5 separate regions of the Homo sapiens genome follow, and regions 2, 3, 4 and 5 are each linked to region 1. Evidence: promoter capture Hi-C in 16 types of primary human blood cells and fetal thymus (Javierre and others, 2016). All regions are on one chromosome and are shown on one strand. The core of a region is centred on a gene start or on the middle of the fragment in contact, and the rest is flanking DNA. Distances in the headings are between cores, read along the strand shown.

Region 1 (2,668 bases), core at 52-2,551:
AAATTCACATAACATAAAATCAACCATTAGCCATTTAAAAATGAACAGTTCAGTGGCATTAAGTACAATTCATCCTGTTTTTAAAAAGCCCTGAAGGAAGTGAAAATGCCAATAGAGAAAGCTCTAGAGAACTGACATACCTCAATCTCTAAATATGCCACATTACATTGACTCAAGTTCTTTTTGCTCTAATGACTGTCAGTTTGTGTTTGGTATGCGTTCAATGCTGAATAAATTGGTCACATATTCAAGTTACCTATGACTCTTATTTCTTTAATTGAATTTGTATTAGGTGTTAATATCTAACAGAATTCCTTCAGCTATCTATTGTCTTAAGTATTTTCTATTATTTTAGTTTCCATGTGGACGGGTAACATAACTACCTTGTTCACTGTTTCCCCAGAGGAGAACCCAGGACATAATGGGATATATGTGTGTGTGTGTGTGTGTGTGTGTGTGTGCGCGCGCGCGCGCGCGCGGGCTCTAAATGAATGATCTATTACGTAATCTTGGGGTTTTAATTCTCATTAATTCCTTATAGGTTCCCCCACGTCTCCGCAGTGGTCAGTACTTTTTTTTTTCTTTTTTTTTTTTTTTTTTCTGAGACGGAGTCTTGCTCTGTCGCCCAAGCTGCAATGCAGTGGCACAATCTCGGCTCTATGCGATCTCTGCCTCCTGGGTTCAAGAGATTCTCCTGCTTCAGCCTCCTGAGTAGCTGGGATTATAGGCGCCCGCCATCACGCCTAATTTTTGTATTTTTAGTAGAGACGGGGTTTCGCCACGTTGGCCAGGCTGGTCTCGAACTGCTGACCTCAGGTGATCCACCCGCCTTGGCCTCTCAAAGTTCTGGGATTACAGGCGTAAGCCACCACTCCCGTCCCTTCAGTATTATCTTGTAACACCCCGGCAAAGCCTTCAGGTGGAGAATGTTCCTGGCGCGGAATAATCCACCTGAATGTGAATCCTGACCATTTTTAGGCGCCAATGGAGGCCGCTGCTACGGGGCCGGCCGTGAGGTGGCGCTGTTGCCCTGTATCGTGACTCCGTTTTCACCTGGACTGGAGTCACCGTGATACCTGACATCTAGCAATCACTAGAGTAGGAAATGAGTATAGATCAGCAACAAGTCCAGCCTTTACAGTTGCAGCAGAGGTTTCCTGTGGCTCGAGTGTGGCGAGTCCCGGAAACCTCGGAGCCCGCAGACTTCCCTTCGCGGGAGCCCGCCCGAACTCCATCCTTTGCCGGCAGCCACGCCCCGCAGTGGGAAGGAGGGACTGAAAAGCATTTCCTTGAGGCTGGCACACCTTGCCCTACCCAACCCTGTCATTATTTCCCCTCCGACTGGGCCGGTGCCATCGGAAACCGGAGTGACCAGAGGAGGGACACGGTAGTGAACGGGGTATGGGGGGCGGGCGCGGCGGGGAGGGTAAAGAAGGTGGGAAGGGAATGGCAGCGAGGCAGCTGGGGGAGGACTTTGCAGTTGGGGAGGGAGAAAAAGGGAAGAGGCTGGGAGCGGAACGGGTGTTTATGTGAACAAACAGAAATCACCAAGTGAATTAACCTGTGTTTCTTCGGAACCAGCATCTTGTGGGGTTTGGCTTCTGTGTTTCTATATGATAAGGGAGTAAACCTGACTCAGCAGATTTGGTGCAGAGAGAAACATGAGAAAACCCAGGAATGGGGGACCTCTGTTTATTCCTGGAGAGGGGGCCATCAGGAGAGGGGGAAGGGAAAGAATGAGGTTACAGGAATTACTTGTCAGAGGACTGCATAGCCTTTCAGACCATGGAATCGTTGCTTTCAGCTTCGGCTTCCTCATCTGCAAAGCATAAATACGGTAATTACTTTCCAGGGTTGTTGCGATATTTAAATGAGATATCAATAACCATGCTTTAAAAGTGTACAGCCTGATGTGCTATCCCTTGTTGACTGAATCTCTGTTTTCTTTCCTTCTTTTTATTTGGGGTGGGGAGTGGGGGAGGGAGTCTTGCTCTGTCACTCAGGCTGGAGTGCAATGGCGCGATCTCGGTTCACTGCAACCTCCGCCTCCCAGGTTCAAGCGATTCTCCTGCCTCAGCCTCCCAAGTAGCTGGGATTACAGGCTCCCACCACCACGGCCGGCTATTTATTTTTTTGTATTTTTAGTAGAGACGGGGTTTCACCATTTTAGCCTCTGTTTTCTTTTCAATGTCTTTTTTCCTCTTTCATTTTTCTCTATCAACCCTTCATCCCCCCTTTCTTTCTTTCATTTATGCGATTGTTGCTTCCTTCTGTAATGGGTCCTCTCCACATTGGAGTTTCTTATACCTATGAGACCACACTTCCTTCCCACTCGGTGGGAAGTAGTGGCAATAAAGGAGTCGAGTTACTGTAATGTGCAGCACAGCTCAACTGAAATACACCTGGAAACAGAACTCTGTGCTGTCTACCTGGTTTTTCCCCCTCAATGCACCGGAATCTCCACTGACAGCTAGCTAGGGGGCAGCTAGGTCTTTCAATGAGACATCATGAAGTATTTGCTTCAATGAAAATCATATACTTTTTCGTTCAGTGCCTCCATTACTGTGTGAGTTTGCTAGGGCTGCTGTAACAAGGTACCACAAACTGCATGGCTTTTGGCACCAGGCACCAGGGACTGATTTTGTGGAAGACAATTTTTTTCACAGAT
Region 2 (2,668 bases), core at 83-2,582, 330 kb after region 1:
ACCAAAAAAGAGCCCGCATCGCCAAGTCAATCCTAAGCCAAAAGAACAAAGCTGGAGGCATCACGCTACCTGACTTCAAACTATACTACAAGGCTACAGTAACCAAAACAGCATGGTACTGGTACCAAAACAGAGATATAGATCAATGGAACAGAACAGAGCCCTCAGAAATAACACCACATATCTACAACTATCTGATCTTTGACAAACCTGAGAAAAACAAGCAATGGGGAAAGGATTCCCTATTTAATAAATGGTGCTGGGAAAAGTGGCTAGCCATATGTAGAAAGCTGAAACTGGATCCCTTCCTTACACCTTATACAGAAATCAATTCAAGACGGATTAAAGACTTAAACGTTAGACCTAAAGCCATAAAAACCCTAGTAGAAAACCTAGGCATTACCATTCAGGACATAGGCATGGGCAAGGACTTCATGTCTAAAACACCAAAAGCAATGGCAACAAAAGCCAAAATTGACAAATGGGATCTAATTAAACTCAAGAGCTTCTGCACAGCAAAAGAAACTACCATCAGAGTGAACAGGCAACCTACAAAATGGGAGAAAATTTTCACAACCTGCTCATCTGACAAAGGGCTAATATCCAGAATCTACAATGAACTCAAACAAATTTACAAGAAAAAAACAACCCCATCAAAAAGTGGGCAAAGGACATGAACAGACACTTCTCAAAAGAAGACATTTATGCAGCCAAAAAACATATGAAAAAATGCTCACCATCACTGGCCATCAGAGAAATGCAAGTCAAAACCACAATGAGATACCATCTCACACCAGTTAGAATGGCAATCATTAAAAAGTCAGGAAACAACAGGTGCTGGAGAGGATGTGGAGAAATAGGAACACTTTTACACTGTTGGTGGGACTGTAAACTAGTTCAACCATTGTGGAAGTCAGTGTGGCAATGCCTCAGGGATCTAGAACTGGAAATACCATTTGACCCAGCCATCCCATTACTGGGTATATATCCAAAGGACTATAAATCATGCTGCTATAAAGACACATGCACACGTATGTTTATTGCAGCACTATTCACAATAGCAAAGACTTGGAACCAACCCAAATGTCCAACAATGATAGACTGGATTAAGAAAATGTGGCACATATACACCATGGAATACTATGCAGCCATAAAAAATGATGAGTTCATGTCCTTTGTAGGGACATGGATGAAATTGGAAATCATCATTCTCAGTAAACTATCGCAAGAACAAAAAACCAAACACTGCATATTCTCACTCATAGGTGGGAATTGAACAATGAGAACACATGGACACAGGAAGGGGAACATCACACTCTGGGGACTGTTGTGTGGTGCGGGGAGTGGGGAGGGATAGCATTGGGAGATATACCTAATGCTAGGTGATGAGTTAGTGGGTGCAGCGCACCAGCATGTCACGTGTACACATATGTAACTAACCTGCACATTGTGCACATGTACCCTAAAATTTAAAGTATAATAATAATAATAATAATAATAATAGTAATAGTAATAAAAACTAAGAAAAAAAAATAAAAAATAAAAAATAAAAAATGTACAAAAAAAAGAAATACTATACAGCCTTTAAAAAGAAGGAACTTCTGTCATTCGTGACAACATAGAAACATGTGGAGGACATTATGCTAACTAAAAGAACCCAGGCACATAAGGAAAAATACTGCATGATCTCATTTATATTTGGAATCTAAAAAAGTTGAGCTCATGGAAGCAGCAAGAATAATGGTGGTTATCAGAGGCTGAAGGTACAGGGGGGTAATGAAGAAAAGGGAGACATTGGTCAGAGGGTACAAAGTGTTAGTTAGACAGAAGGAATAAGTTTTAGTAATCTATTCCATAGCATAGTGATGATAACTAATAATAATATATTGTATATTTTGAAATTGCTAAAAAAGTAAATTTTAAATATTTTATCACAAAAAATAAGTAGGTGAGTTGATGGCTATGTTAATGACTTTGATTTAATCCTTCTACAATGTATGCATATATCAATATATCACATTTTACGCCATAAATGCATAAAATTATTTGTCAGTAAAACTTTTAAAATAACAAAATAAAAAATAATAAAATGTGAATAGACTCAGAAGGCTATCAATAAGCCAAACTTTTGTTCACTGAACATCCAGAAGGAAAGAAAAAAAGATATCAGTGCATGAGCAGCTAAAACTCTGAGAGAAACATATTTTCCTTCTCAGACAAATCAGGAAAAAGGATTTCTGGAGCTGAGAAAATATGGGAAATTTCAGAGAGGACAAAGTTGGAGAAGAGGATAGCTTAATTTTGTATATGAGTTGACACAAGTACAGGGTTCACCTATTAATTACACAAGTATAGTACAAAGCCAAGATAGCGTGGCAAAGGATTTGGGAACTGAACTATGATTTGTACCACTATCTAAGTCCCACATTCATGACTGAGTGACTCATGAGCAGAGTGGACCCTGAGCGGCATAACGAAGGTTTTGAAACTGAACCTATATGGGACAATAATCCAAAGAAAGCAAAAGACACAAAGAAATTTGGGGCATGATGGACAAGTTTATTATCTTAACGGTCATTTCATAAATACAACACATATGTCGAAACACATGTACCTTTAAACATGTGCCCTTTAGGGTATGTATCAATTATACCTCAATAAAGCTGAA
Region 3 (2,668 bases), core at 119-2,618, 310 kb after region 1:
ATTGGCAGGCCACTCCTGCTGCCCCCAGCCACTCTGGGTTGGATTAGTGGTCAGTCCCTGGGAGGTGATCAAGCTCCCCTTTGTCCCTATGGGACGGGCTTTCCTGCCTTGGGCCTATACTCCTTACCACAGTTCCTGAAGTGCTGGTATCGTCCTGCAGCCCCATCCTCGGTTCCATTGCGCTGCCAGGCAGGGTGCTGGGACGTGGGGAGAGCTGGTCTATATATCCGGGTGAAGCTCAGCTGTGGCACACCTTGGATGCCGGGTCTCTCCTGGCCCCGGGGACCTAGTATCGCAGGCAAAGGGGACAGTAAATCTGTCATCTCCAATCCTGATGAGCCCCCAGAAATGTATCGGGATATATAAGGAATCAGAGAGACCAAGGGATTGAGGAGGATATTTATTATTTAGGTGCACTGGTCCACTTGGATTAACATCCAAAGGACTGAGCCCCAAACAAAGAGTCAAGTTACCTTTTAAGCATTTCGTGGGTGGGGGAAGATTTGTGCAGGGGGAAGCGTATAACAGAAGCAAGAAACAAAGACAGTTATTCAATTGAGACATACATGACATCATTTCTTTTCAAGGAAAAACATGTTTTATGACTTGAGTTTATCTGTCTAGTGACCTTGCAGCTGCACAGCTAGAGAAATAGGGTCTTCATAATGCCTGGGAAAGGGAGAGATAAGGCTCACTAGCCACAGAAAACAGGCAGTTAATTTTTAAAGGACTCCGGCTCTTTCTCTTCCTCAGGGGGGAATTGGGTTTTCTTATATACAACTGAGTTTTTGCTTACACATTCTGTAATTTATTTTAATTCCTGTTCCATGCCAGCCACCTATGCTGCTGTTTTCCCCCTCCTTCCCCTTTCCCTAGGGAAGGGACTGGTGGCAGTGGGGCTATTCTTTCTTCCCCCAAGAAGAAAGGAAAGGGGGGTTCTGAATATTTTTCTTACTACTGGGAGTTTGTGTGAGGTTCAACGCCCCCCTCCCATGGGGATTCCTCACCTCTTTCTGAGGTTCAACCCGCCTCATGGGGATTTCTCACCTCTTTCTGAGGTTCAACACCCCTTCTATGGGGATTTCTCACCTATTTTTAACCTCCAAGACATCCCGACTAAGGAATAATCTACTGACCCTGCAGTTTCTCTCTCCTTGGTACGTCCTAACTAAGGAATGCTTTACCGTCCTGTGGCTTTTTTTTTTTTTTTTTTTTTAGTCCCGATCACCAAGGAAATACTTTATTGGCTCCCACAGCTTCTTCTTTCTTGGCCTGTGCACAAAGTTGTCGCCACAGTATGTGAGGATCCTTTAAGCTAGGTTGCTGGCCAGTTTCTTTTTTTTTTTTTTCTCTCTGTGTTGCTGAGAGTCTGGGTTTATTTGTCTCAATTTGTCATTCCTGAGGGCCCCTTCAATGAGGTAGGGGAGTGCACTCCCTCATGAGAGAGGACTGGAGACCACCCCTGGAGGAGAATGTATCCCCATACAGACTGCCACCAAATTGTTTGAAATGCTTGTTCCCCAGTGCCATAAAAAAATAGCACTTGAACATAGATTTATTTAGTGTGGCCATTTTTTTTTTTTACTTCCTGCAGAAAGGGTATACTCATCAGCAGTTTTGCCACGAGTGTACACCAAACAAAGGAGACAGCATCATTTATAACCTGCCGCATCCACCCTACTGCTGTATCCAGTTTCCATTGACTGGAACAGGACCTCACATTCTGTATTTGTCCCGACTGGCTAGCAATTTAGAACTTTTTAAAAGAGGCAAAGGTAGAGGAGAACAAAGGAAGGAGGAAGTAACTTGTGGAATGCTGAGAAAGGTAAAAACACTTTTAAATAAGGAAGAGGAACAGGCTATGACCTAATGCTTGCTTGGACCAGTATAAGCATGCCAGGGCAAATATTTAGGAGCACAGGTCTTTGAATAAATTTTGCTTCTAAGAGAAGTTACTATTTATTCCTAATTAGTTAGGGAGGAAAGTCTTTGAAGAGCAACCTCTACTTTACTTTTTACAGAATAAATGCAGGCAAAAAGAACATAAACTTTGCCATGGGCAGAATGTTATGGACAGAATGTTTCTGTTTCCCTGAAATTCATATTTGAAATCCTAACTCCCAATGGTATAGTATTAGGAGGTGCCTTTGGGAGGTAATTTAGGTGTGAAAGTTGATTATAAAAATTGAGTAATTCTTTTCATAACTAAATAAAACAGAGTGGAGAATCCAGTGGGAAAACATTCTGGGTACAAAGCATTGCTCCAAGAATGTAATTATCTGCAAGCCTGGCTGCTGAAACTGCCTGTTGTAACCAGAAACCAGTTTTATCTGTAGCTTCTGAAGTAGCTTACTGCAACTCTAGAACTAATGTTTGCTCACACTGTTGTCACGCAAAAATCGGAGCTTGCCAGCTCACCAAATCCTTACAAATATCAATGAACTTTCTCAAAAAGCAATATGTAAAACCTCTAACCTTCTCTTTGCTCTTTGGAGATACCGAAGACCACGTGTATGCCCTGAACTGCAATTCTTTCTTCCCAAATAAAACACTACATTTAGAGATTTGTGTCTGCATTTTTATTTTTACTTTGACATACTATTATAGGAGTTACTAAGAAATTCTTTTAGGCAGATAGGGAAAAAAAGGGGTCCTTGGGCAATTTTTG
Region 4 (2,668 bases), core at 50-2,549, 280 kb after region 1:
GTTCGAGACCAGCCTGACTAACATGGTGAAACCTCGTCTCTACTAGAAATACAAAAATTAGCCAGGTGTGGTGGCACATGCCTGTAATCCCAGTTATTCTGGAGGCTGAGACAGGAGAATTGCTTGAACCCAGGTGGCGGAGGTTGCAGTGAGCCGAGATCGCCCCGTTGCACTCCAGCCTGGACAACAAGAGTGAAACTCCATCTCTTAAAAAAAAAAAAAAAAAAAGTAATTAATTTCCATGTGGGCAAAAACTTTCTTTTGGATTGTTTACTTTGACATTCTCAAGATCTAGAAAAGTGCATAGCAAATAGCATTCGCTAAAGAAAAAAAATGTTGAATAAATTTATTGTCCAACTTTAACACATCACCACATGAAAGCTGTTTTCCTTCCTTATATTTCAGAGTTTTAAGATTAATAGCTTTGGTTTTTGTTAAAATGTTATAATGTGTTCATCTTATATTACTTTATATGATGTCTTATGTTAGTATTTTAAATTAATAAACATAAAATATATATTTAGCTTATCTTGTTCATTGGTATCAATTCATATATTATTCTTATGTATACTGGGGTATATATTTAAGTTTCTAATTCTCCTGCATATGATGTAGATATGACAGAGATGCAATTTCATGTTTTTTATATTAAAATTTAAAAATTCCCAGGACTAATTTTTTGTAACTTAAAGGCCAGTGTGATAGTAACCCAGGACAAATTATTGAATAGGAGCTAATTTCCCACTTTATCTGCAATGTTACCTTATATTTTTTAATCTATGCACATGACTTTTTCTTGTCTGTATTTTTACCCTTCTCAATTTGTCTATCTATGCCCCACATGCCACTTTGCCTTTATTAATACGGTTTTAACATAGGTCTTACTATCTAGTAAAACAAGGCTCCCACATTTTCTTCATCTTCAATTGTGACTTTCCTAGTCTTGACTTTTGTAATTTAATGTACATGTAGAATTCTGCTTTGTAAGTTCTACAACAAAACCTGAGGTATTAACTGGAATTGAATTGAATCTCTAAAATATTTAGGATTAAATGGCATCATTTAAATTCATCATTTTCAAATCCTAAAATGTTATTTAAAATAATGGCAAAACTACAATTACTTTTGCACCAACCTAACATTTATCCAACAATGGGTGGTCTTAACTCTTTTACCAAATTAACAATATTTTTGTAGTGATAAGGCGGAAGTACTGTGGTTTATGTTTTTCCACAGGAAGATGAGATTATAATATTTGTCACATCTTTCTCAAAGATAGAAATTCACTAAGTATCTCCACTTTCAATTCTAGATCAGGAACTGAGGACATATCTAAATTTTCTAGTTTTATAGAAGGCTTTTATCCACAAGAATCAAGATCTTCCCTCTCTGAGCAGGTGTGTGTATGTGTGTATGTGTGTGTGTTTATTATTCAAGATATGAGAAATTATATTTCAACCTCAAAAAAATAAAAATATTTACACTATAAGGTAATTCTAATTGTTTCTTAGATGCTTGAATAGAACTCCTGAGGATACGGAATGCTTATCATTTCTGATGTATATTCTATCACTGTATCTGATGATAGGTAATTAGGATATACTTATTGAAGAATCAGAAGTTGTAATATTACTATAAGAAGAAGCCTTGTCTCTAAGCAAAACTAGAAAAATGAATCTTTACATTTAGGATGAGAAGAATTGAGATTCAATTTAAATTGTCAAATTTTTGAGTTTTCTGATGCTGTAGGGGGCACTTACCTTTGATACACATCTTTACATGCAAGGTGAAACAAGTTATATCTGTGCTTTCCAACTATCATAATCAAATATGAAATAGCTTTTATTTTTGAAATCTAAGCACTATGCTTATTTATTAAATGGTTTTTTCTGGAAGCTCTGCTGTGCATTGCTAAGATGTTACTATATAAACATGTGAGATTAGTTTTGTTAATGATGATGGTGATGATAATTTGTTGATGATGATGATATGGGCACGTTGGATTAAAATGCACTAGAAAAGGACATTCAACAAAAGTGCATATAACTTACCTGAGTTTAGCTTGCAGAAAGAAAACTAAATTATTGCCAGATAAAATAAACAACTGGAAACACTTGATCTTAGCTAAAAGGCCAAGAAGCAATAAACGACTATAAACAGAAAACTGGGTGTGTTGTTATCTAATATCAGTAAAGTAAAATATTGGTATTAAATATCTCAATGTAGGTGAATTAATAGGTTCATTATATTGTTATGACATTTTGAAGTAATTGGCGATTATTTTACAACCAAGAGAAATGTATAAAATTAATTTTGCCTGGCTTTATGTGAATTGTCATTTCTATTCTTTTCTTAAAGGCATGCACAGGGGAAAAGTTTCTGCATTTTACTTTTCTATTCAAAATATTTTATCTCACCACGGGAAAGAGAACAAAAAACAAATGCCCAGTTTTATTTTATTCAGGAATCCTTTGTGCATTGAAGACTTTAGATTCCTCTCTGCGGTAGACGTGCACTTATAAGTATTTGATGGGGTGGATTCGTGGTCGGAGGTCTCGACACAGCTGGGGTATGTTTTTACCACATAAGTGTGTAGTTTTGTTTTTATACAATTTTAAGATACCAAGAATTTCATACAAGCATATAAGGCATAGGCAAGCAATTTACT
Region 5 (2,668 bases), core at 77-2,576, 260 kb after region 1:
TTGTTAATCAATATAATTTAGAGTGAAACCGATAAATATCACGACAATGAAGAATTAATTTGAAATTTTATAATCATTATAGATGTAATAATACTTTATATTTAGCCCAGACTTTAAAAATGCATTTTTAATGGATACATCAAATTGTGAATGTCAAACATAATTTCTCATACACATACTTATATTTAATTGAAGCAGATTTTATTTTTTTAAGAATGTAATAATGAAGTAGTTTCCATAAAATGCAAATCTAAACTTAATTATAAATAATAGGACGACCTAAAAAAAATTGAGCCAAACAAACATTGCAAAAAAGATGTACTACACTGACATGAGACTCCTACCTCATTAGTTATTTTACACACTCAGTATGAATTAGAAATAATAAAATGGCAATTGTGTTAAAAATAATTAAAATATCTAATATGTATTGAGGACTAATGTGTGCCAGGTTGTATGTTAAGGGTTTTATATACATTATACTTCATAAATTATTTTCCCCAATCTAGATTAGTAAACTGGTGTTGTAGACACCAAGTAACTTTGTAAAGGTCATGCATTATGAGTTTCAAAGCTGTAATTAATTTTAGGTCTCACTGGCTACAGAGCTCATTGACTAGATTATTAAATTATATTTTCTGATTTATTACAATTACTTACACAACCAAAGTGACCCTCGCTGCCTTTTAAAACAACCACAGGGTCTTTCTGAAAGTTTGAACTTAAAGTGTTCTTTCATAGATGGTCCAAACTTATATTTATCATTTTCAGTTTTCCTATTTTAGTCATTAAATCAATTACCAATCAATTCTGTAAAATAAAGAGTTAAATCTTTTTCAGTAGTATTTAGTTTATGCATAAGTTAATGTAATGTTTTACAAGGTATAAAATATTTCTTTAAAATTTTAACAATTTTTCTGTTTTCCTCAATCATTCAGAATAAAAAACATTTGCCAAGACCTCATGCCCTTTTAGTAAACGAATGTAAGTCACTAACTTAATGTATTTTAGTATTAAAAGTTGTTCTATATGCCAACAAATTATTCCTCCATCTTTAGCGCTCAATCCTTACATTAATGAATTTTAAAATTGTCATACAATTAGTGCATTTTATTTTCAAATTTCAATTTTAGTTTTTTACACAGGTATTCTATTGGTGATAAAATATTTCTGTAGAATCTGATTTTAAATTAATAAAGATATTTATATTCAGTTACTTCTTAGTTTTCACAAATGTATTGTTTTTTATTGTTCCCATTAATAATATTATGTCAAATATAGAAGGCCTTTTAAAAAGTGACCTATTGTTTAAAGAGATTTCAGTTTAAAACTTTAGGAAATTAGTACCAGACTTTTATATTGGTCAACAGCAAAATGAACATTACTACTCAGCCTCCAACACATGCAGTTTGCCTATACCAGGGATCCTGTCAAAATATACACCACTTATAGCTTCTTAAGTGCAGTTATCATAGAGCACAGTCCCTGACATCACACAGCTGCAGAGATGAATAAACAAAGAGGAACCTACTCAGAAGTGAGTCTGGCCCAGGACCCAAAGAGGCAGCAAAGGAAACTTAAGGGCAATAAAATCTCCATTTCAGGAACCAAACAGGAAATATTCCAAGTAGAATTAAACCTTCAAAATGCTTCTTCGGATCATCAAGGGAATGACAAGACATATCACTGCAAAGGTAAAACATTAAATAGATCTTCAATATTATTGTTCTAGGATGTGCAGTTGAATGCAGAAAGGTGGGGAAAGATTAGGGAATATTTTGCACTTGTGAGAATCAGAGGTCAAAGTCAGGATCTAATATTCTAATATGAAATCTGAAGCCTGATTTTATTCAGGCATTGTTCAATTGTAATTTGTGATTAACAACTCATGGAGCATTATATTTACTGATAATGAAATGGTATATTCTGAGAGAAAGATTACTAGAGTAGATGTAGATTTAGAGGACAGAGTTTATCATTATGTTTTCCTGTGCACGTGAGTTCTCTTGTACGTAAACCTTCTCATCAACTCTCTATCTCCCCTCTCTCAGTGCCTCTTTCTCTCCCTGCAGGTTTACTGCCACCTCCAGAGAAGCTCACTGCTGAGGTCCTAGGAATCATTTGCATTGTCCTGATGGCCACTGTGTTAAAAACAATAGTTCTTATTCCTTGTAAGCATATTCTTGAAAGATTATAAGGGAACTTTTCACTATAATGATTGGAAGCGCCTTGAAACATTTCATAATAATGAGGATTAGAATTCTCTGTTTAATGTATATCTCTGAACCCCAAGATAATATGCTGCTTCTGAACTTTTCAAATTTATAAATAACAGAATAATTGTAGAAAACATTTATTTTTTTGTGTGTACTAAATATATATGTATATATGATACACACACAGAGAGATGTATTCTGATTTCATGACTCAAAGACATGTTTTAAGAGAAAAAATATTTAGAAAAACAAATTAATTTTTGAAAGTGGTTAGATCAAATACTATAAGAGATGGTGAAGTTTTATGCTAATGGCTTTAAAAATATTTGTTTTAAAGATCTCATTATTTTTATAGAAAAGTCATTTTTATTTCAGATTGTTCCAATTTAAAATAATTTTAAATTTTGTATTTCAAAGTAAGCAACTGAATTTATTATAATTTGTCTAGATAT

The links. The method cuts DNA at HindIII sites, captures the fragments that hold promoters and counts their contacts. A CHiCAGO score of 5 or more calls a contact.
Region 2: a contact is called between a fragment that was not itself captured here and the fragment with the promoter of STYK1 in region 1, in 1 of 17 cell types (naive CD8 T cells). The highest score is 5.5, in naive CD8 T cells.
Region 3: a contact is called between a fragment that was not itself captured here and the fragment with the promoter of STYK1 in region 1, in 2 of 17 cell types (total CD8 T cells and naive CD8 T cells). The highest score is 8.8, in total CD8 T cells.
Region 4: a contact is called between the fragment with the promoter of KLRK1 here and the fragment with the promoter of STYK1 in region 1, in 2 of 17 cell types (naive CD8 T cells and total CD8 T cells). The highest score is 15.9, in naive CD8 T cells.
Region 5: the fragment with the promoter of KLRC4 here is called in contact with the fragment with the promoter of STYK1 in region 1 in 2 of 17 cell types (naive CD8 T cells and total CD8 T cells); the score reaches 10.1 in naive CD8 T cells.

The regions. Positions count from the first base shown.
Region 1 is chr12:10,672,685-10,675,352 of GRCh38, reverse strand. It overlaps STYK1 (serine/threonine/tyrosine kinase 1), which reads left to right and starts at 1,301. Exons shown (of 11, transcript NM_018423.3): 1 at 1,301-1,387. The HindIII fragment of the contact is 4,755 bases long and covers 1-2,668 here.
Region 2 is chr12:10,343,267-10,345,934 of GRCh38, reverse strand. No RefSeq gene overlaps it. Among named protein-coding and RNA genes, the nearest start is that of LINC02617, 6.3 kb to the right of the region's middle. The HindIII fragment of the contact is 4,413 bases long and covers 1-2,668 here.
Region 3 is chr12:10,361,493-10,364,160 of GRCh38, reverse strand. It overlaps KLRK1-AS1 (KLRK1 antisense RNA 1), which reads right to left and starts at 392. Exons shown (of 4, transcript NR_120430.1): 1 at 128-392. The HindIII fragment of the contact is 2,751 bases long and covers 1-2,668 here.
Region 4 is chr12:10,388,672-10,391,339 of GRCh38, reverse strand. It overlaps KLRK1 (killer cell lectin like receptor K1), which reads left to right and starts at 1,299. Exons shown (of 8, transcript NM_007360.4): 1 at 1,299-1,397; 2 at 2,465-2,569. The coding sequence starts at 2,530. It overlaps KLRC4-KLRK1 (KLRC4-KLRK1 readthrough), which reads left to right. Exons shown (of 13, transcript NM_001199805.1): 7 at 2,465-2,569. The coding sequence starts at 2,530. All of the region lies in intron 3 of KLRK1-AS1 (KLRK1 antisense RNA 1), which reads right to left. The HindIII fragment of the contact is 4,388 bases long and covers 1-2,668 here.
Region 5 is chr12:10,408,415-10,411,082 of GRCh38, reverse strand. KLRC4 (killer cell lectin like receptor C4) reads left to right here and starts at 1,326. Exons shown (of 4, transcript NM_013431.2): 1 at 1,326-1,694; 2 at 2,073-2,171. The coding sequence starts at 1,508. It overlaps KLRC4-KLRK1 (KLRC4-KLRK1 readthrough), which reads left to right and starts at 937. Exons shown (of 13, transcript NM_001199805.1): 1 at 937-984; 2 at 2,073-2,171. The HindIII fragment of the contact is 5,444 bases long and covers 1-2,668 here.